Regions from separate parts of the Homo sapiens genome. Here region 2 is linked to region 1. Evidence: promoter capture Hi-C in human tissues and cell types (Jung and others, 2019). All regions are on one chromosome and are shown on one strand. The core of a region is centred on a gene start or on the middle of the fragment in contact, and the rest is flanking DNA. Distances in the headings are between cores, read along the strand shown. Region 1 holds the start of NR5A1 (nuclear receptor subfamily 5 group A member 1). Region 2 holds the start of MIR181A2 (microRNA 181a-2).

Region 1 (4,180 bases), core at 967-3,466:
CAAAACTTAGCCAGGTGTGGTGGCATGTGCCTGTAGTCTCAGCTATTCAGGAGACTGAGGGAGGAGGATTGCTTGAGCCCAGGAGGTCGAGGCTACAGTGAGCTATGATGGTACCACTGCACTCCAGTCTGAGTAACAGAGCAAGACCCTGTCTCAAAAGACATAAAACAAAATAGGGACACTAAAAAAAGAATATTAAAATAGGGAGACTAGTTAGGTTCAGCCATATGCAAGAGAAGTATATCTTGTAAGAACTTCTCTAGGTGAAAAAGACATAATTACAAGGTCATGCACATTGAGGAATAAGTTGTCTGTTACGTTGTAGGTGGAATATATTCGATCAGTTAGCTATGACTGTTGGTGAAATTATATTATAAAAATTATTATTATTGAATTAATGATTATTAATTATTAAAACCCTATTGCCCGGGCTAGAGTGCAGTGGCACAATCATAGCTCACTGCAGCTCCAACTCCTGGGTTCAAACCATCCTCCTGCCTCAGCCTCCCGAGTAGCCGGGACTACAGTCTATCAGTATTATTGTTGTATGTTCACACACAATTTTAAGTGGCATAATGAGGAAAACACACACTAGGTTTTATTTTATTTTATTTTATTTTATTTTATTTTATTTTATTTTATTTGAGACGGAGTCTCACTCTGTCGCCCAGGCTGGACTGCAGTAGCACAATCTTGGCTCACTGCAACCTCTGCCTCCCAGGTTCAAGCGATCCTCCTGCCTCAGCTTCCCAAGTAGCTGGGACTACAGGCACAAGCCACCACACCAGGTGAATTTTTCTATTTTTTAGTAGAGATGGCGTTTTGCCATGTTGGCCAGGCTTGTCTTGAACTTCTTGACCTCAGGTGATCCGCCCACCTTGGCCTCCCAAAGTGCTGGGATTACAGGCATGAGCCACAGTGACTGGCTGGAAAACACATAGGTTTTAAATATAGTTGGCGTTTCTACTTTTTCAGTGGCCTTCCATGAAAAAATATATATAGGGAGAGTTGGCTTCACTTCACTTATCCAGAAAAGTCCCTCTTGTTCCAGATAAGTGAGGTGTTGGGTGTGATTTATTTATTTCCTCCAATGAAGGGATATGTGGGAGGAGGGGTGGTTCTCAACAGTGACTGCCCCATAGTCACCCTGTGCCCCTCCCTGCTCTCCCAAGATGAAAGGCACGGAGGTAAATCCTCTGAGGACAGAGACTTTTCTTCTCTTTCCTATGGGATCCCTGGTGCCTGGAACAGTGCCTGACCCCTAAGTGTGCGCTCAGTAAATGTGAGACAAACAGAGGAACACACAAAAGATCCAGTCACCGTGGGAGCGGCACAACACCCTGCAACCCGGGCCCTACAGGAACAGGATATTTCAGAGCCCATCTGGGCCCAGAGATTGGATGGGGACGTCCCAGGTTGTCTAGGGAGGCCTAGCCTTCTAGATAAGGGCCCCTTCCTGCTACCCTGTCCTATCCTGGACTAGCTTCATACTTGGTTCAACCTGGGGCCACTATAGCCACCACTTGGCCTCAGAGGCAGTCTCAGCCCAGCCTCAGTTTTTCCAGCCATCGACTGGGAACATCAGCAGCCCACAGCAGATGAGGACATTCAGAGGCCACCGTGGCATGCACGCACCAGGTGTCCAGGCCGCTCACCTGCTCCCCTTCCGGCCCCCCTCTTCTTCCACCTGATGGAAGAGGAAAAAGAGGTGGAAGCAGCAGGCCGCCTAGTCAAGTCGCCATGGCCTTGCCTCCGCACTGGCCTGTCCTGACTCTACTCCAATGTCCGGGCTGGGCCAGACCATGCCAGGCCAGGCCCCAGGGAGGTAGCCATTCACAAGGAGAGAGGAGCAGGCGGCAGGCCGGGTGGGGGAGCAGCCCATAAATCAAGCCCCACTCCCACCCGGTTTCTAACAAGCGGGGCTGCCTACCCGCCTCTGTGGGGTCCCTGCCTCTGGGCTCCCACAGCGGGCCTGGAACAGCCAGCTGGCCAAGGCCTCTGCAGTGCCTTGGCCTCCGCCCCCACCCTCAGCCCCCAGATAGATAGGGGTATTTTTTTTCTTTTAGGAGAAGAAGAAAAAATAGACGTAAATGAAGAGAAACACCAACAAAGAAGGCGAGAGGCCTGCAGAGTCACGTGGGGGCAGAGACCAATTGGGCCTCCGGTGGCCCCCCCACCAGGGCGGGGAGGAGGAGGAGGACGGACGGACAGGGCCAGCCTGCTGTCCGGCTGCCGCCCGCCGTGGTGTGAGGGGGTTTCTGCGCACCCACAGTCGCCACCGTCCCACCTGGGCTGCCGGAGCCTCCCCCTGGACCCCTGGTGCCCACTGCCACCCTCATCCGGTGTGAGAGCGCTGCTTCCGCTTCGTAAGTGAGGGCCTTGGCCCAGGCCTCTAATGGCCAGCCTCCTTCTGCAGTGCCTCCCTGCAGCCTGGGCCGGCCACTGCCTGCTCCACTTAGTGACCGGTGCCCCCTGCTCTGGGCAGGGAAGGTGCCAGGGGTCTCCCAGACTCACCCTCCCACCATGCTACCCCCTCTTCTTCCCTGGGCTGCCGATGGGAGGAGCCAGGCCTGTGACCACAAGCCCCATGGAGGTCCGCTGGTGTCCCGCTGTCTCTGGCCAGGCATCCACCAGGCTGTGTGGGTCTGAGCCTAGAGGTCTGTGAGTGTGTCTGGAGGGCTCTGGGCCTGTCTTGGGGCTCTGTCCCCCACCTGAGTTTCTGTGTTGTCTCTGTGGCTCTCTCTGAGTCTTGCTGTGTATCCGTGTGTCTGTCTCCGGCATCCATCTGTCAGCCTGGGTTCTGCGGCCGGGCCAGGTCTAGGCTTCCCTCCCTGGGTGGGTGGATGAGGGGCTGGAACTCCCCAGGCGGTGGGCTGGAACCTGGAACCTGTGGGGGTGGGTGCCTCGGAGCCTGGAGTGCAGAGGAGCCATGGGCTTCCAGCCGGTGAGAGTAGAAACCCTTGGGGAGAGGGGATTGGAGATAGAGGGAGAAGGGCCTGAGCCCAGCCCCCACCCAACCCCGGCGGCTGGGGCCTGTGTGTCCAGCTCCAGGTTTCCAGGAGACCTCGGGTGAGCTCTACCTTAGAACAGCCAACTGGGGCACCCCAGCCCATCATCCACCAACCCCCTTCCCTCCTGCAGTCACTGTCTGAGGGCTCCATTGTGGTGGGGAGCTGTTCAGAGGCGGCAGTGACCCCCACCTCCAGCTCGGGCAGATGCTCTTGTTTCTCAGGGGTTTGGGGGTGCGGGGGGTACGATTAACAGGGTCTCTGGCTCTTTCTTCCCTCCTCATCCAAGATTCTTGCATGGAAACCGCAGTACCCCATCTGTAAAGCCAACATGTTCCACTTTATGCTCGGAGAAAACTGAGGCTCTCGTTTCAGAGAGGAGAAGTGACTTGCCCGAGCTTGCACAGCTAGTCTGCGGGTTCTGCTCCTTCTGTGGGTGAGCCAGCTGAGTGCGGTCTGCGCGGGGGGTTCTCTGGCCACAACTTGCAGGCCCCAGGCCCAGCTCCAACCGAAGCCCGAGGCCTCCAGGCGGGCGGGAGCCCAGATGGAGCCTTTTGGTGGGTTGCGCCGCTGTCAATGCAAAATTGCGGTATTTTCCTGCTTGAAGATCGCAGCTTTTTGGCCTCATGGTCCCCAAACTCTCTCTGACCCCAGGTGCCAGCGGGGGCGGAGGCAGGATGCAAGCAGGCCCCTTCCTTTCGGGTCCGTTTCTCCAGCTGAAAAACAGTGGCCCCGCGGATGGTCCCTAGCCCAGAGCAACTGCTTGGCCCATAGGCCCGGGAACCCCTTTGTCCCCAAGACCGCCCAGCGCTTTCTTCCTCGCCCCACCCCCCCGTGAGAGCTCCGAGGGGAGCAGCGGGGCCCTGCCTCCGGGCTCCTCTCCCAGCTCCTGCGCCCGTAGAGGCTTCGGGTCCCCCCAGGCCTCGGACATTTGTAAAATGGGATTTCCACGAGTCCCATTTCCAGCCCAGCGACCTGAGGCTAGCGAGCAGAAGGGGTTCGCCCCAGATCTCCCCAGAGGGGCGCCACTGAGCGCTTCCGCCAGGCCACACGCGTGCTTTGCCCCTACTGCTTGGGTTCATCCTCACGACCCACCCTTAGCGAGGAAGAGCGGTCATCTACCCACTTCACAGATGCGGCAACTGAAGACCCGAGACGGGGAGAGAGCTGCT
Region 2 (4,180 bases), core at 576-3,075, 190 kb before region 1:
CCACCAAACATGGTGCAAAATTTTATGTAGTCTGGAGATACTTAAAAGCAGCACAAATGTGACTCTACCTGTCTGCACTCAGCAGAATAGTGGCGATTTCAGGTGGTGACACAAAAGGTTGGGCAATAGTTGAAAAGTGGATGACATGAAATGTGGTGGTGGGATGGGGGCAGGAAGCCGATGTTAAGCTAGTGAACTTTATTTACTTTGCTTCCAGCTTCCAGTGACCCAAAATCACCTCGTCTAGAGTAGGGCTCAGGAATTTGCCATTTTAAAAGCAACTCTAGATGATTCTGGTGTACAAGAAGTTTGGGAAACACTGGCTTGAACCTGATATTTTCTCTGAACTCTCATAGTTTTCTTTAGATTTTTCTTTTGGCTTTGATTTCTCTTTCTGGTTCTTGTCTCATTACCCCATCACTTCTCCTTCCTAATTTGACAGGAAAGCCTTGTCAAATTAAGGCTTGCTTAATTGTCAAGGCTAATTTGACAAGACTCTTCTCTTACTGTCTTATTTGACTTTTGCTATGAGAATCTGCTTCTTCTTAGACTTAAGTGTATGATAAATTATTCATGACCAAGGGCCTTGTTTTTCTTTCTTTAACATGGGATTTAGTGGCTTATCTCATGTTACAGGATTTAGAGAGTTGATACTACATTTAAATTTTTTGTTAAGAAAAATGTACATCTTCTATCTCACTTAGGTGTTTTTCCTGTTTGAGGGACATGGTTTGCAAAGGTTAGAATGAATGAGCCTCATAGTTTTTGTCAAAAGAGAATATTGATGTACATCTGAATAATAACCAGAACATTCATATTAAGTCATACTATATAGCCATTTAAAAGAATGACGAGTACATAAAAGACTGTTGTGGAAGTCTATGATATATAGCTGAATAACAAAATAGATTATAGAACAATAGGTAAAAATGAGCTTATTTTTGTCTAAGCCACTCTCCCCCCAAAACATGCAAAATTACAGCTATTTATCTGTGTATGTATGGATAAAGGTCTTCAAGGATATAAAATAAATTCTAGTTATGATATTTATTATCTTAATAAGTTTATTATAATTATACATGTTTTCCTCCGAGGAAATGGATTGCAGATGATGATTGAAGGGATTTTCAATTTTTACTTTGTATATTTTTGTATTTGAATTTCTAAATAATAAGCATATGATTCTGTTTAGAAATTCTGAATGTACTGATTTTTAAAATGTGATGTGATATCCAGATATGTATTTAATTCTTCCTATAAAATATCATTTCCTTAAATCTAGACTATTGAAAAAGGAGAAAAGTACTAGGAATTTAGAGAACTTACTCCATGTTAGAACCAAGGAGAACAAGAAAAGCTTTAGCTAGTGTTTTGGAAATAGTAGCAGCTCCCACTCACAGCAGTAGCTGCTGCACTCAGGCGACTCTCTGCACATGCTTTTGCTTCCTTTGGGTTGTTTGGTCCGCAGTTTGCATTCATTGATCAGTGAGTTGATTCAGACTCAAACCCACCGACAGCAATGAATGTTGAGTGCAGCCATCAGTGTTTTCAGTTGGTGGGGTTGCCTTTGCCCTCCCTGGCTGACTCCTGGCTCTTCTTTTCCATCTCAGTTCTTTGAAGTCTGTGTGTCTGGCTTCTCCCTTAGTAACCAGCCATCTGCATGATTGAGGGCCCACACAGGTGTCCATAACATTGACATTGGAGCTGGGAGGTTATTGCAGATGAGGAAGCTGTGGTTCAGAGAAGGAAGGAGTGCTTGGAGAACCTCACAGGTAGCACTGCGCCACACAGGCAGTGCTTGCATATTAGTACCTGTAAACCACAGCTGAGGGACCTGCTTTTCCTCTTTGTTTTGAACTGAGAAGTATGAGTGCTTTTTTGAGGTAAATTAGCAGATTATGTTGGAGTTTAATAATAACAGCTTACATATATTGAGCATTTGCTGTGGGCTAGTAATGGTACAAAGCACCTTATATATTATCTCATTGAGTCTCAAAACTCCATGATAGGTACTCTTAGCCTCTGTTTTATATGTGAGAAAACTGAGACACTTGCTTAGGGGGTCAAATAACTAGTTAAGGGCTTGAGCCAAGATTCATCCCAGATCTGACTGACTCCAGGGCTAAGTTTTTGCTTGAATTTAGCAAACATTTAAATAAGCATATGTGGGGATATGTGGGCACTAGTAAGGCAATAGCTCATGCTCTAACTGGGATATCAAAAATTAACCATATTAACTATAATTCAAAGTGAAATGTGATAAGAACTGTCACAATTGGATAATTTTGTGCTATTTTTGCTTATTAAATCCTCCCCTTGCCCCTAATTAAAAATTTTGAGAGGATGTGGGAGAAATGGGAGTAATTATTTAACTGGATTTTATTCCAAAACAAAATACGTATTTTTAATAAATTTTTACTTGCTACGTCCTGTTTCTCACCAGAATGGTGCATATCTAGGAGACATGTAGGTACATTAGATATCATCATGGACTGCTCCTTACCTTGTTGAAATGAAACACTTTTTTTGTAAAAACAAACAAATAATAATAAAACACACAACAGAAAGCAAGGAACAGTGAGCAGTAGGAATAAAATTCACTGGACCACATTTGGGGGATTGCAGGACCATTTCTGGTGAACTCATGTGACATGTGAAGGTACAGCTTGCTCTTTTGCTTCAGGAAATGTAGTGTCGTCTGTAAGGACCCCAAGGTACAGTCAACGGTCAGTGGTTTTTTCAAATCCCAAACTCACCGACAGCGTTGAATGTTCCTTGGAGTCCTCTGAAGGCTGGCCTGATAGCCCTTCTTCATTCTCCCATCCACATCCCAAGAACCAGTGAGCAGTGAGACCACCGCTGATGGATGCTCTTACATTCCTCTCTGGGTTTCAAGTCGAGAGTATTTAAATTATAAAATCAATTTGTGTGCAGCAGAGAACTAATGAACTGTGGGATAGACTGTGCAGTAATTTGTACAAGCAGACTCAAATGAATGTCTGAGAAAATGTCTTTGAATGGTATTATTTTGTGATTCTAAAAATGTAAAATACCTGATTTTGCAGTAGTATTTTAATTGTTAACAAGGGTAAGAGATTAACATATATTGGGGATCTGCTATATACTAGGATTTGTATATTTTATCTCATTAAATTCTCAACAACCCACATTTTCCTGATGAAAAAACTTGAAGTGATTTGCCTAAAGTTACATTGCCAGGAGCCAAGGTTATAAGCCAGAATTTGAATACTGGACTTCATGTTTCCAGTGCTCACTCATCATACTGCTTCTGTTGTCTACTACAGAACTTACTGTTGATATCTAGGAGTAGACCCATCACTGCAGAGCCAAAGTCAAACATGTAAATTTCTTCTACTTGTTTGCCTATAATAATAGCAGGTAGGTCTATAGGTGAGGTCATAGGGGAAGATGAAAAACCTCGACCTCCATGATTGATGATCTCCTTTGCTGAGATCCTGCATTACTAAGTTACCACAGAGGTGTTAGTGATAGTCCACAAGCTATTTTCCATATTGAAAAAGCAAAAAATAAACCAAAAACCCACCACCTAATGTAAAGCTTGCATTTCTTCTTAGTTGAGAACACAGAGTGTAACTAAAATGTCAGATGTCATTTGTTCTGGCTGAAACGATACCAGTACATTATAGGACATAGTGGTTATTTTTGATTCTGTTGAATGTCTGTGATGAAAAATTTGAAAAATGAATTAATAATATGAATCTTCAGAATATGTGATTTACAATGGGACAGATCTAGGAATACTTAATAGGAAAAGGGCTTACAGAACTGCCTGCTGAATTGAAGTTAATCTCTAAATGGGGATAGTTATTACTATTTGCTTTAGGTTTAAATACTAAAGGCTGACTGGTCTCAAATTCATTTTTAAAGCAGCCAAATGGTACACGTTAAAAGAAAAAATATCAACCACTGAGATTTAGGTTTGAATGTAAACTGTTTACCTTCTATATCAGTTTAATTCACCCTCTGTCAAAACTCTGCATTAGCCAGCTTTGTTGAGTTTTCAGTGTTATGACAGTAAATTGTATACACACACAAAAAATCAGGCAACTGTAACTGTGTAATATGTTTAAAACTTTTTAATGGGTTTATTTTAAAAAGTCTTCCTCTTGGTCCAATAATATAAAGCGATGTCAAGCCT

The links. The method cuts DNA at HindIII sites, captures the fragments that hold promoters and counts their contacts. A contact is called where the count stands out against the background at its distance.
Region 2: a contact is called between a fragment that was not itself captured here and the fragment with the promoter of NR5A1 in region 1, in 1 of the 25 tissues and cell types used here (H1 embryonic stem cells).

The regions. Positions count from the first base shown.
Region 1 is chr9:124,505,435-124,509,614 of GRCh38, reverse strand. NR5A1 (nuclear receptor subfamily 5 group A member 1) reads left to right here and starts at 2,216. Exons shown (of 7, transcript NM_004959.5): 1 at 2,216-2,366. RefSeq lists a cis regulatory region at 2,134-2,139, promoters at 2,121-2,265, 2,136-2,459 and an enhancer at 1,230-4,180. The HindIII fragment of the contact is 26,734 bases long and covers 1-4,180 here.
Region 2 is chr9:124,691,073-124,695,252 of GRCh38, reverse strand. All of the region lies in intron 2 of NR6A1 (nuclear receptor subfamily 6 group A member 1), which reads left to right. All of the region lies in intron 1 of MIR181A2HG (MIR181A2 host gene), which reads right to left. MIR181A2 (microRNA 181a-2) reads right to left here and starts at 2,811; the gene lies at 2,702-2,811. It overlaps MIR181B2 (microRNA 181b-2), which reads right to left and starts at 1,543; the gene lies at 1,455-1,543. RefSeq lists an enhancer at 1-231. The HindIII fragment of the contact is 6,533 bases long and covers 1-4,180 here.